Linked DNA regions of Homo sapiens: regions 2, 3 and 4 are each linked to region 1. Evidence: promoter capture Hi-C in human tissues and cell types (Jung and others, 2019). All regions are on one chromosome and are shown on one strand. The core of a region is centred on a gene start or on the middle of the fragment in contact, and the rest is flanking DNA. Distances in the headings are between cores, read along the strand shown. Region 1 holds the start of FAM13C (family with sequence similarity 13 member C). Region 2 overlaps LOC107984235 (a long non-coding RNA gene). Region 3 has its middle 140 kb from the start of SLC16A9. Region 4 has its middle 170 kb from the start of SLC16A9.

Region 1 (3,181 bases), core at 54-2,553:
TCAAAACTGGACACTAAAGGAGCAGCACAGCAAAAGAGAGAAACAAAAGAATGTGGAAAACAAGAGGGCCTAGGAAGCACTGTAAACCTTATCCCTCCCTCACCAAGTCATTGTGATAGTGGCAGGACTTGGAAGCCAAAAGCAAAACATTTATTTGCTTTTTAGGGAATTTTAGCAAACAGCTCCCCAGTTAGTTAAGCCTTCTACATCAAACTCATAACATTTTTTAAATGTAGTTGAGGATACAACTTTACACATGCCTTTTTCCTGAAAAGATGTTTAGAGTGGCTTCTACAAAGGTCCCAGAAGTAAACATCATGAATTAGCCTAGAGAAAGAATGCTAGATGAAGTACATATTCATATATATATATGTATATATAAATTACATACAGTATTAGCAAAATACACTACCTGTTAATTTTTAACAAATATAGTATAATATTAGGAAAACATTAAGGAAGGGATGTCAAAAATTAAAACTATAGCATATAAATATCTTTAAAAAAATACTGTGCTTGCTGGTACGCTCCTTCATTCACACTCCTTCATTCCATGTTTGAAGGGTGTTAGTTGCCCTAATCAACAGCTTTAACCATAGGACTAGGTGACTCATTCGTCCCATAGTCACATCTCTGTAGTCAGAAGACAAACATGACAAAGGGCATGCACAAAAAGTTTACTCTGATATGCCTTAAAAATCTGTAGACAAGAGAGGGCCAAGATAAGTTTAGCCTGTTTACCACATGCTGGAATTCAGCTCATTTCACATCTATCTTCTATTGCTGTAAATGTATATAGTGTGCACTCCATGAAAACTGACACCAATGTTGGCAAAATACAACAAAGCTTCCTAACACATCAAATGGATTTTTAAAAATCTGAGCTCCAAGAACACATATCTTGGAGCACTGAGCTCCTGCAAGCAATCAGCTGGTTTTAATTTCTCTCCCGCAGCTGCTAAAATGCTGGTTTCAACCTGTAAAGATTTCTGGGCCCCACCAGTCAGCACGTCTCACGGTCTTCACAGCCCCAGATTCCGGGAGACAATGCATCTAAAACGAACAGCGGCTGGGAACGGTGGAGGATACCTTCACGATAGTTGCTTCCAGAGAAAGGCATGCAAGTCTAATTTTAATGGTAAGAATCACTTACTCTGTTACAGTGGTGCTGCTGAAGGAATTATCCTGAAGGCTGAAACAGAAACAAGAAAACATCAGCCAAGTCTGGCCGGGGAGCCGTCTCCCTGATTGCTCTCCGGGAGTTAGAGCACATACACAAACATGGCATTGCAAGGCAAGTCTCCGGGCTCGCCCGGCACGCTCGCTCTACCTTGGGCTGCTGTCTGCACATGCTCGTAACGACACCCCCAGCAGGGGCCCAGCGGCACGGGCGAACCACAAAGCCCGGCAGCCCGCGAGGCTGCGGGGACAGAGCTGGGCGGGGCGCGGCGGCGGGGCTGGGACCCCGGGATCCAGCGAGGAGCACCTGGAGAGTTACCACACGACCCCGACCTCGCCAGCCCAGGCGCCGCGTTTAATCTTGGGCTCTTTGTGCCAGCCACCCCCCGAGGCTGGCAATGAGAATGCCCCAGTGTTTCTGCCGAAGTGCTGAAATACCCGGGAGACTTGCTTTCTTCCACATGTCTCCTACCAATTTTACAGAGCTCACCCCAACCCCCCACACTCCCACCCCACCCCCAGGGATGGAGGCTCGCAGAGATTCATCCATCGTTCAGAAAAAGTCAGGAGAGAACAAGAAGGGGGAGGGGGATATTGCTGCTGTTTGGTGTTTTATTTTGTGTGTGTGTTTTTTGTTGCCTAGGAAAAAGAATAGGCTCTAAAGCAGGGCTGGCTGCATCACACCTGATCTGTCTAGAGCGCTCTTATTTCAGTCCCAGAGAGGAAGCGCCCAGCCCCGGACTACAGAGCTGTGAATGAACCCACGCAGGGCGAGTGGAGAATTTATTCCAGGGGTTAGCTGGTGATTAGGACACCGTGCAAGGGGTGGGGCTTGCTATGCCTAGAGCAGCCCGCTTGAGCTCAGCTCCCTAGCTAGCACCTTTACAAAGGATGGAGAGACGGAATCCGCAAACGCTATCCCTTTGAATAAAGGCAGCCTTGTTAGGGAAAGGAAAGACTGTCAGTCCCCCCACTGGCTTCTTTCCCTTGGGGATATTTGTTCTGCCCTCTTTGTATTGTTCATTTCTCCTGCCATGTTGACCTGGATATGGGATGTAGCATCTATTAAAGATTCTTATTTGAATTTGAATTATTTTATTTGAATTTTGAAATAAGATTCCCATCCCCCTTTTTAATCTTTCTACTCCCAGAAGCAGCTAGGATAGTGGTTTTTAGTCCAAACCTATGTAAGTTAATGAGTTAACATAACAACAAAAAACTCATAATTTTTCTAATTGGGCAATTAAAAACTTTACCAAAACTTGGAAATAATGGGGAAGAGCATGACCTTTCAATGTCAAACTGAGACATCGGTTAACAAGTCCACCCAGGGGCCAGTTAATTCTCCAGTTGTGTTTGGCTTTGCTCTTCACTATTGATTAGATTCCAGCCACAGTGAAGTTCTGTGGTCACTTGCACATTTTATTCAGCCTGTTCAGAGAAAAAGATAATCGCAGCGTTTATGATTTTATTGCAATATAGGAAGATAACCAATTTTGCATCTAACCAAATAATCATTTTGCATCTAACCAAACTTTCTTTCTAAATACCTGTAAATCCACAGATCCTCAAAATGCTTTTGGAACCAGCTTCATCATCTTACAGTTTTCCCCATTAATAAGTGAATAGATCTCTGCTGCCTGCCTATGTTTGTATGAGAGTTGTATTTTAACTTTTTAAATTTATACCTTGAAAAATAAAAATTGAGTTTTCAAAGAAAAACAGGTTTCATTAAGGTTCTTTGCAATTTTGCTTTCCTCTCTCCAAATATTTTTAAAATCAGCTAAATAAAAACCTAATATGGTCTTAGACTGAATTCTATGGACTAAAATAAGTTCAGGAATATTAATCCTTTGTATGTATAACTATACAGTACATATTTGTTCCGAAGCCACCTACTATTTCATTTGAGCTAGGTTCAGGAGTAAGAGACATCGCTGCTTCACTGTATTCATTATTTAGCCATTTCAAAGTGAGATCTGTTCTTTGTTTATTCAGACTG
Region 2 (3,015 bases), core at 149-2,648, 150 kb after region 1:
GATTCATGCTTCATGGTCTAGATATTATCAAAATCACACAAATGTAGCAAATTAGAGTAGGCGCTCCAGCATTCAGAGTAACCTCTATGGGTATAAGTTGAAATTATTACCCCTCCTTTCTTTCAAGAACCTGTAGAGAAAGCCAAAGGCCCAAGTATTGTGAGAGATACTTGGAAAATGATTGTTTTGCATCCTAGGAAAGTGATTAATTTGAAAGAACAGCCAGTTATCAGCAATACCTGATGAAGAAGCATTAACATTAACAAAATATATGGCCAAAAGATAACATTCATTTCTTTGAGTTAGTGCATAGATCTGGGATCAGCAAATTACAGCCCTACTCCTTTTTTTTCTTGATAATAGCTTTATTGGGGTATAATTCACATATTATACAATTCAATAGCTTTCTTTTTCAGTATATTCAAAGACTGTGCAATGAGGACCACAATCAGTTTCAGAATATCTTCATCACTACAGGAATAACCTCCTTATCTTTCATCAGTCATCCCTCAACCTCCTCAACCGAGGCAAGCACTAGTCTCCTATCTGCCTCTATAGATTTGCCCATTCGGGACATTTCATTTCAATGTAATCACACGATATAAGATATTCTGTAATTGGCTGCTTTCACTTAGCATAATGTTTTCAAGGTTCATACATGTTGCAGCATATATCAGTACTTCATTCCTTTCTATGGATGAATATACCATTTATATTGTATGGATACGTCTGTTGCATTTATCCACCCATCCATCGATGGATATGTGGGTTTGTAAAAGGAAAATAAAATCTCAGGACCCCAAACTCACTATGCCAAAGGGAAAAGTTAAGCTTCAAAACTGAGTCAACAAAAACAAAAGCAAACAAACCCTCCTTTTGAACGAAGAGACAGCTGTAATTTCACATGTTTACATTATCATATGTAAAATGTAGATCTGCAAAGAACACAAGACAAATGAATGACTAATTGACTTTTTATCCCAATCCTCTCTTTTCTTGTGTAAAATGTGGATTCAGTGGTTGCTAATCAAAGCCTCAAAGAATGTAACTGCTTGTCTCACTATCTAACCCCCTTTTTTTCCCTCTTTCCTCCCTCCCTTTCTGCCCATTCTTTCCCCTTTAAATATTGAAGCTGTCAAAACCTTCTTTGGAAAAAGCACAGGCTACAGATTCTACTGTAATTTGTGTTTCTTTTTCCCAGGTGTGTCCTCAACCTTAGCAAAATAAATCTCTAAATGTATTGAGATCTCCTCACTTTTTGGTTTACAGGTTGTGTCTGCCTTTTGGAAATGGAGCAAGTGTCGGTGTCTCCATGTTGCTCCCCCACCACCATTTGCTGTCACTCTTGCCTTGAGAAATCAGATTAGGATAAGGGGAGTAGCCACAGACAAGAAGTCTCTGTGCTTTCCACCCAGAAGGAATTTTAGGTGAAAGAAGAGAAATGGCCTCTAAGATCCTTCCCTTCCTGGCTGTTATTTTCCGAAGCCTAAACTCATGTATAAGCCTATGTGATGTATCCTAGAGGGAGAGAAACAAACATCCCTAAAAAAGGCACCAGAGAGAAGAAGGTAATTCTTCCTATTTCTAGGGACACAGAGGGCCAAGTGGGAAGAGAGACCACTAGGCCTGGGGAGCAGCGGGCAGCCCCTGGCAGTGCCCTGGGACTATCAGCAGGGAATGGTCATCATTCCCCCAATGTGTCCAGCAATCAGAGGGAGAGGGCCCTGGGTCAGTGGGCAATTCCTTAAGGAGAGAACCCCAGTAGGGACAGAAATTTAATTTCTCCCTTGACTACAGGGCTAGAGGCTCAGAATTACTATCATGTTAGCCTAAAGTTGCATTCCAAGCTGAGTTTTTGGACTGAGATTCATACTCACAAGAGACAGGAATGACTACAGGAGACTAATAAAATAAATATATGTGTGATTAGGACTCAGAAGAGCAGTGCCCCAAGCCCTCCCTGTTGGAGGTAGGCAAGAACAGAAGGAAAGCAAGTATTAGATTGGTGCAAATGTAATATCAGTTTTTGCAATTATTCTTAATGGCAAAAAGAGCAATTACTCTTGCAGCAACCTAATAATTCAGACAAGTTCAGAATGGCCCCCACTCTTTGGTACTAAAGCAGAGGTTCAGGTGAATATCAGGCACAGCAGCTCCAGTAATCAATAGATGCTCAAAGACAAGACCTCTGGGCCACCTGAGTGTGTCCTTCACTTCTATTTCTCTTTGTAGTTTGTATTTTATCCTGAGCTCCACTGCAGGCTTTTCTTTTTTGTTTAAGTAAAAGACTATAGTATAGAAACTACATGTTTTAATGAATATATGTATATTTACTTATATATATAGTATATATATTTATATATATTGTATATATATTTATATATATTTATATATATACTATATATATTTATATATAGTATATATATATTTGATATATATTTATATATTTATATATTTATATATATTTTATATATTTATATAGTATATATATTTGATATATATTTATATATTTATATATATTTTATATATTTATATATATATTTTTATATATATTTTATATATATATTATATATATTTATATATATTTATATATTTATATATATTTTATATATATATTTTATATATTTATATATTTTTATATACATATTTTATATATATTTATATATATTTTATATATATTTATATATATTTTATATATATTTATATATATATATATATCTCCTTGTGACTATTAACAATTCCTTTGCTCTATCATGATGATAGATTTCTATAATCATAGCTATTTTACTCCTGCCAAAACCTATTTCACAGCCAGCTTGCAGGCACCAAAAACCAAAAGTGGGTGGATAAATGTGAATTTGGAAGTAAATTTTAGTAATGTCTTAAGATGTGCTTTTAACAGAAAATTTTCCTCCCACAGGAGGCAAAGTCATTGCTCTTGTCCTTTCCACCAAAGGAGAGTTTATTTCTTTTTTTTTATTTTAATTTAACCAGAAGTCTTCTTACCTTTGCAAC
Region 3 (3,285 bases), core at 756-3,255, 200 kb after region 1:
CTTTTCTTGGGAATTTATTTTTTATTTATTATCTTTCTTTTTTAATTATACTTTAAGTTCTAGGGTACATGTGCACAATGTGCAGGTTTGTTACATATGTAAACATGTGTCATGTTTGTGTGCTGCACCCACTAACTCGTCATTTACATTAGGTATTTCTCCTAATGCTATCCCTCCTGCCTCCCCCTACCCCATGACAGGCCCTGGTGTGTGATGTTCCCCTTCCTGTGTCCAAGTGTTCTCCTTGTTCAGTTCCCACCTATGAGTGAGAACATGCGGTGTTTGGTTTTCTTTCCTTGCGATAGTTTGCTGAGAATGATGGTTTCCAGCTTCATCCATGTCCCTACAAAGGACATTAACTCATCCTTTTTTATGGCTGCATAGTATTCCATGGTGTATATGTGCCACATTTTCTTAATCTGGTCTATCATTGATGGACATTAGGGTTGGTTCCAAGTCTTTGCTACTGTGAATAGTGCTGCAATAAACATACATGTGCATGTGTCTTTACAGGAGCATGATTTATAATCCTTTGGGTATATGCCCAGTAATGGGATGGCTGGGTCAAATGGTATTTCTAGTTCTACATCCTTGGGGAATTCCCACACTGTCTTCCACAATGGTTGAACTAGTTTACAGTCCCACCAACAGTGTAAAAGTGTTCCTATTTCTCCACATCCTCTCCAGTACCTATTGTTTCCTGACTTTTTAATGATCGTCATTCTAACTGGTGTGAGATGGTATCTCATTGTGGTTTTGATTTGCATTTCTCTGATGGCCAGTGATGATGAGCATTTTTTCATGTGTCTGTTGGCTGCATAAATGTCTTCTTTTGAGAAGTGTCTGTTTATATTCTTTGCCCACTTTTTATGGGGTTGTTTGGTTTTTTCTTGTAAATCGTTTCAGTTCTTTGTAGATTCTGGATATTAGCCCTTTGTCTGATGGGTAGATTGCAAAAAGTTTCTCTGATTCTGTTGGTTGCCTGTTCACTCTGATGGTGGTTTCTTTTGCTGTGCAGAAGCTCTTTAGTTTAATTAGATCCCATTTGTCAATTTTGGCTTTTGTTGCCATTGCTTTTGGTGTTTTAGACATGAAGTCCTTGCCCGTGCCTATGTCCTGAATGGTATTGCCTAGGTTTTCTTCTAGGGTTTTTATAGTTTTAGGTCTAACATTTAAGTCTTTAATCCATCTTGAATTAATTTTTATACAAGGTGTAAGGAAGGGATCCAGTTTCAGCTTTCTACATATGTCTAGCCAGCTTTTCCAGCACCGTTTATTAAATAGGGAATCCTTTCCACATTGCTTGTTTTTGTCAGGTTTGTCAAAGATCAGATGGTTGTAGATGTGTGGTATTATTTCTGAGGGCTCTGTTCTGTTCCATTCGTCTCTGTTTTGGTACCAGTACCATGCTGTTTTGGTTACTGTAGCCTTGTAGTATAGCTGGAAGTCAGGTAGCGTGATTCCTCCAGCTTTGTTCTTTTTGCTTAGGATTGTCTTGACACTGGGGGCTCTTTTTTGGTTCCATATGAACTTTAAAGTAGTTTTTTCCAATTCTGTGAAGAAAGTCATTGGTAGCTTGATGGGGATGGCATTAAATCTATAAATTACCTTGGGCAGTAGGGCCATTTTCACGATATTGATTCTTCCTATCCATGAGCATAGAATGTTCTTCCATTTGTTTGTGTCCTCTTTTATTTTGTTGAGCAGTGGTTTGTAGTTCTCCTTGAAGAGGTCCTTCACATCCCTTGTAAGTTGGATTCCTAGGTATTTTATTCTCTTTGAAGCAATTGTGAATGGGAGTTCACTCATGACTTGGCTCTCTGTTTGTCTGTTATTGGTGTATAGGAATGCCTGTAATTTTTGCACACTGATTTTGTATTCTGAGACTTTGCTGAAGTTGCTTCTCAGCTTCAGGAGATTTTGGGCTGAGATGATGGGGTTTTCTAAATATACAATCATGTCATCTGCAAACAGGGACAATTTGACTTCCTCTTTTCCTAATTGAATACCTTTTATTTCTTTCTCCTGCCTGATTGCCCTGGCCAGAACTTCCAACAGTATGTTGAATAGGAGTGGTGAGAGAGGGCAACCCTGTCTTGCGCCAGTTTTCAAAGGGAATGCTTCTAGTTTTTGCCCACTCAGTATGATATTGGCTGTGGGTTTGTCATAAATAGCTCTTATTATTTTGAGATACATCCCATCAATACCTAGTTTATTGAGAGTTTTTAGCATGAAGGGCTGTTCAATTTTGTCGAAGGCCTTTAACAGACAGAAAAGTTTTAAAATTTGTTGGCCGGGTGCGGTGGCTCATGCCTGTAATCCCAGCACTTTGGGAGGCTGAGGCGGGCGAATCACAAGGTCAGGAGATCAAGACCATCCTGGCTAACACGGTGAAACCTCGTCTCTACTAAAAATACAAAAATTAGCCAGGCGTGGTGGCAGGCGCCTGTAGTCCCAGCTACTCAGGAGGCTGAGGCAGGAGAATGGCGCAAACCTGGGAGGTGGAGTTTGCAGTGAGCCGAGATCACGCCACTGCACTCCAGCCTGGGTGACAGAGCAAGACTCCATCTTGAAAAACAAGAAACAAAAAACAAACAAACAAAATTGTATGGTGGACATTAATATACCTAACACTTAGATTCTACAATTGCCAAGCATTGGCTACTTTTGTTTCATTCACATATGTATCTACTAATTTGTTTTATTTTTACCCACTTTTTGAAGATAGAATTTATACATCATAAAATTTACCCATCCTAAGTGTACCTGATTAGTTTTACAAAAACTATACAATTGTGCAACCATCACCACAATTAGTCTCTGCTCCCTCTCCTTGCCCTAGCCAACTACTGATCTTTTTGCCTCTACAGTTTTTGCCTTCCCCAGAAATTTCATATAAATGGAATCATACACTATGTATCCTTTGGTACTTGGCTATTTTTCAGTTAGTATAATGTTTTTGAGGTTCATCCATACTGTTTTATGTATTTATTTTCATTGCTGAATAATCTTCCATTGTATGGACATAACTACATATGTTTATTTCATTAGTTAATGGATATTTGTTAGTTTTTTTCAGCTTGGAGCTATTATAAATAGTCCTACCATGGGTCTTTATGTAAGCATATATAAGCATGTATTTTTGTTTCTCTTGGGTAGCTATCTGGGGGAGTGTTATTACTGAGGCACATGGTGCTTGTATGTTTAACATTTTAAGAAAGTACCAGGTGTACCATTTTACAATTCACTAGGCAATATGTGAGGCTGCCGGTATCTTCCTCACTA
Region 4 (3,006 bases), core at 507-3,006, 180 kb after region 1:
TGGCAATCATTAAACAGTCAGGAAACAACAGGTGCTGGAGAGGATGTGGAGAAATAGGAACACTTTTACACTGTTGGTGGGACTGTAAACTAGTTCAACCCTTGTGGAAGTCAGTGTGGCGATTCCTCAGGGATCTAGAACTAGAAATACCATTTGACACAGCCATCCCATTACTGGGTATATACCCAAAGGACTATAAATCATGCTGCTATAAAGACACATGCACACGTATGTTTATTGCGGCACTATTCACAATAGCAAAGACTTGGAACCAACCCAAATGTCCAACAGTGATAGACTGGATTAAGAAAATGTGGCATATATACACCATGGAATACTATGCAGCCATAAAAAATGATGAGTTCATGTCCTTTGTAGGGACATGGATGAAATTGGAAATCATCATTCTCAGTAAACTATCGCAAGGACAAAAAACCAAACACCGCATGTTCTCACTCATAGATAGGAACTGAACAATGAGAACACATGAACACAGGAAGGGGAACATCACACTCTGGGGACTGTTGTGGGGTGGGGGGAGGGAGGAGGGTTAGCATTAGAAGATATACCTAATGCTAAATGATGAGTTAATGGGTGCAGCACACCAGCATGGTACATGTATACATATGTAACTAACCTGCACATTGTGGACATGTACCCTAAAACTTAAAGTATAAAAAAAAAAAAAAAGAAAAGAAGCAATGGCCAGCAAAACTGGCACATGGGACTGTTTCATACCTGATCCTGTGACATTTACAGGCTCTTCCACTCCCAGTTGTGTGGACATATATGGGTACCCAGAGCAGGGAGCAGGCTACTGCCACCCTGAACCACCGAATGGGGACCTCAGTGCCCAGTTTCCAGCAAACCATCTTCCACACAATAGGCAATCACCTTTTCAAGTTTTTTCACCATAGGTTAGTTCTGCGTATTCTACGAGTTCATATAATTGGAATCATATAGTATGCACTCTCTTGTGTATGGCTTGTTTCACTCAGAATATTGCATTTAAGATTCATCCATACTGTTGCATGCTATAGATGTTTGCTCTAGTATTGCTGAGTAGTATTCCATCACATGGATGTACCACAATTCACAATGTACCACTGCTATTCGTGAACATCTGGACTATTCCCAGCTTGGGGGCCTACTCCCTTCTTGCCTCTCATTTTGCCTTCTGCCTGCTTATATGGGCCGTCCTCCCGTATTGAAGAGACTGGTCCATGGAGACAAACTGACAAGGGTTGGAGCTACTTGCAGAGTGACATTAACAAGTTGTTAGGCTTCTCTGACTCTCCATTTGCTCTTCTGGGGACAATAGTGATAACACCTAGTAATACCTTAGAGTGGGAAGGAACTCAAAGAACCAGAACCTGGAACATCGCAGTATTTAATAATAACAGCTTTATTTTTATGACTATTATATTAGTTTCCTATGGCTGCTATAAGCAAGAACCACAAACTTGATAGCTTAAAATAACAGCAATGTATTCTCTCACAGTTCTGGGGTCTAAAAACCCAAAATCAAGGTGTAGGCAGACTCACACTGTCTTTATAGGCTCTAGAGGAAAATTTGTTCCATGTGTTTCTCTGAGCTTCTGGTGTTGACAGTAAACCCTGCGGTTATTTGGCTTGCAGGCACATCATTCCAGTCTCCACCTCCATCTTCACATGCATCCTTCCAATGTTTTTTGTCTCTGTGTCTCTTCTCTTTGTGTCATAATGACACCAGTCATACTGGAATACAGGTCCACCCTACTCCAGTATGACCACATTGTACCTAATTACATCTACAATTACCCTATTTCCAAATAAAATTCACATTCTAATATTCCAGGAAAAGCATGAATTTGAGAACATTATCCAACCCGGTACAACTACTCCCCAACTAAATTGTAAAATAATTTACTTAAAGGATTGTGTTTTATATCATATTCCTGTGCGTCCCTCAGTGGTCAATAAATGTTTAAGTGAAGCAGAAATGGATAATGATGATGGATTTAAGCTCTACTTTGAGGATTGGTAAGAAGAAAAGATCAAACAGCAGAATAAAGCATAGAATTTTAGCCTCAGTTTCTGTAGATTTCATTGTATATTTTTTGGGAAGTTTTGGAGTCAAGAAACTAATATACTTCCACAAGAAGTTAGCATTTTCATGTAGCTAATCAGAGATTCATGTTGTTCCACCTAGGAGACTTAATAAAAAAATAAAGTTAGAAAAAGATTGAAAGTGATTTTCAGATTTTATTTCAGCTATAGTAAGACATTTCTTTAACATTTGTTCTCAGATAAAACAGTGCTCTGACATTCTCCTAGACCTGGTGAATTCCCTCTAGGAGCAGAGGTTGCTGAAGTATATAAACACTGCACCACAAAATCATTCCCTTCCCAGTTCTTCAGGTAAGAACGGAAAAAAAAATAAAGTTCAAATTCCCTGTTTACACAAGGGTAGATATTAATAGGGACCACATATATCCTGATTTATTTTGTACCTTCTCTGTTGTTTACGTAACTTTGCCCTGATGGCCAAATTCCATAGGAGTAGGGTATGCCAAGTGTTAGAATTACAATTAGATATAAATTAGACAAAGTTTCAGTCTTATTATCAATAATATCCAATTATAGACATATAAAGGATATATGAAGCCTACCTGGTTCTTCTTATGGTCTTCAATCACTTTCTAGAATAAAAAGATATAAAACCTCCCCAGTAGTGTTATATCTCAAAGATTATGAAACATTTCTAGTAGCAAAAAAAAAAAAAAAAAAAAAAAAAATACCCCACAAAATGACCATTTTCTCATTGGTAGTCTTCTATGTTGTTCTGCAACCTGGTTATAGGAATATACATTTTTCCTAAAGGACTCAATAAAAATGCTTTTATTTTGAAAGTAAGCAAAATAAACCTAAAAGCATTTATATTTTTCTGAACTCACAACAGTTCTAAAGTAGTTTCTCTTCACCCCACTAAAATAATTGCTTGAAAGTTTGCCTAACTATCCAAAC

What was found. Contacts are between HindIII fragments. The study calls those that stand out against the background at their distance.
Region 2: a contact is called between a fragment that was not itself captured here and the fragment with the promoter of FAM13C in region 1, in 2 of the 25 tissues and cell types used here (IMR-90 fibroblasts and spleen).
Region 3: a contact is called between a fragment that was not itself captured here and the fragment with the promoter of FAM13C in region 1, in 4 of the 25 tissues and cell types used here (dorsolateral prefrontal cortex, heart right ventricle, hippocampus and 1 more).
Region 4: a fragment that was not itself captured here is called in contact with the fragment with the promoter of FAM13C in region 1 in 1 of the 25 tissues and cell types used here (mesenchymal stem cells).

Annotation. Positions count from the first base shown.
Region 1 is chr10:59,361,246-59,364,426 of GRCh38, forward strand. FAM13C (family with sequence similarity 13 member C) reads right to left here and starts at 1,304. Exons shown (of 14, transcript NM_198215.4): 1 at 1,154-1,304. The coding sequence starts at 1,215. It overlaps LOC124902428 (a long non-coding RNA gene), which reads left to right and starts at 654. Exons shown (of 2, transcript XR_007062148.1): 1 at 654-1,138; 2 at 1,823-2,269. The HindIII fragment of the contact is 7,624 bases long and covers 127-3,181 here.
Region 2 is chr10:59,513,760-59,516,774 of GRCh38, forward strand. The region is part of intron 1 of LOC107984235 (a long non-coding RNA gene); the gene reads right to left. Among named protein-coding and RNA genes, the nearest start is that of FAM13C, 150 kb to the left of the region's middle. The HindIII fragment of the contact is 9,242 bases long and covers 1-3,015 here.
Region 3 is chr10:59,565,124-59,568,408 of GRCh38, forward strand. No RefSeq gene overlaps it. Among named protein-coding and RNA genes, the nearest start is that of SLC16A9, 140 kb to the right of the region's middle. The HindIII fragment of the contact is 8,599 bases long and covers 1-3,285 here.
Region 4 is chr10:59,541,352-59,544,357 of GRCh38, forward strand. No RefSeq gene overlaps it. Among named protein-coding and RNA genes, the nearest start is that of SLC16A9, 170 kb to the right of the region's middle. The HindIII fragment of the contact is 5,622 bases long and covers 1-3,006 here.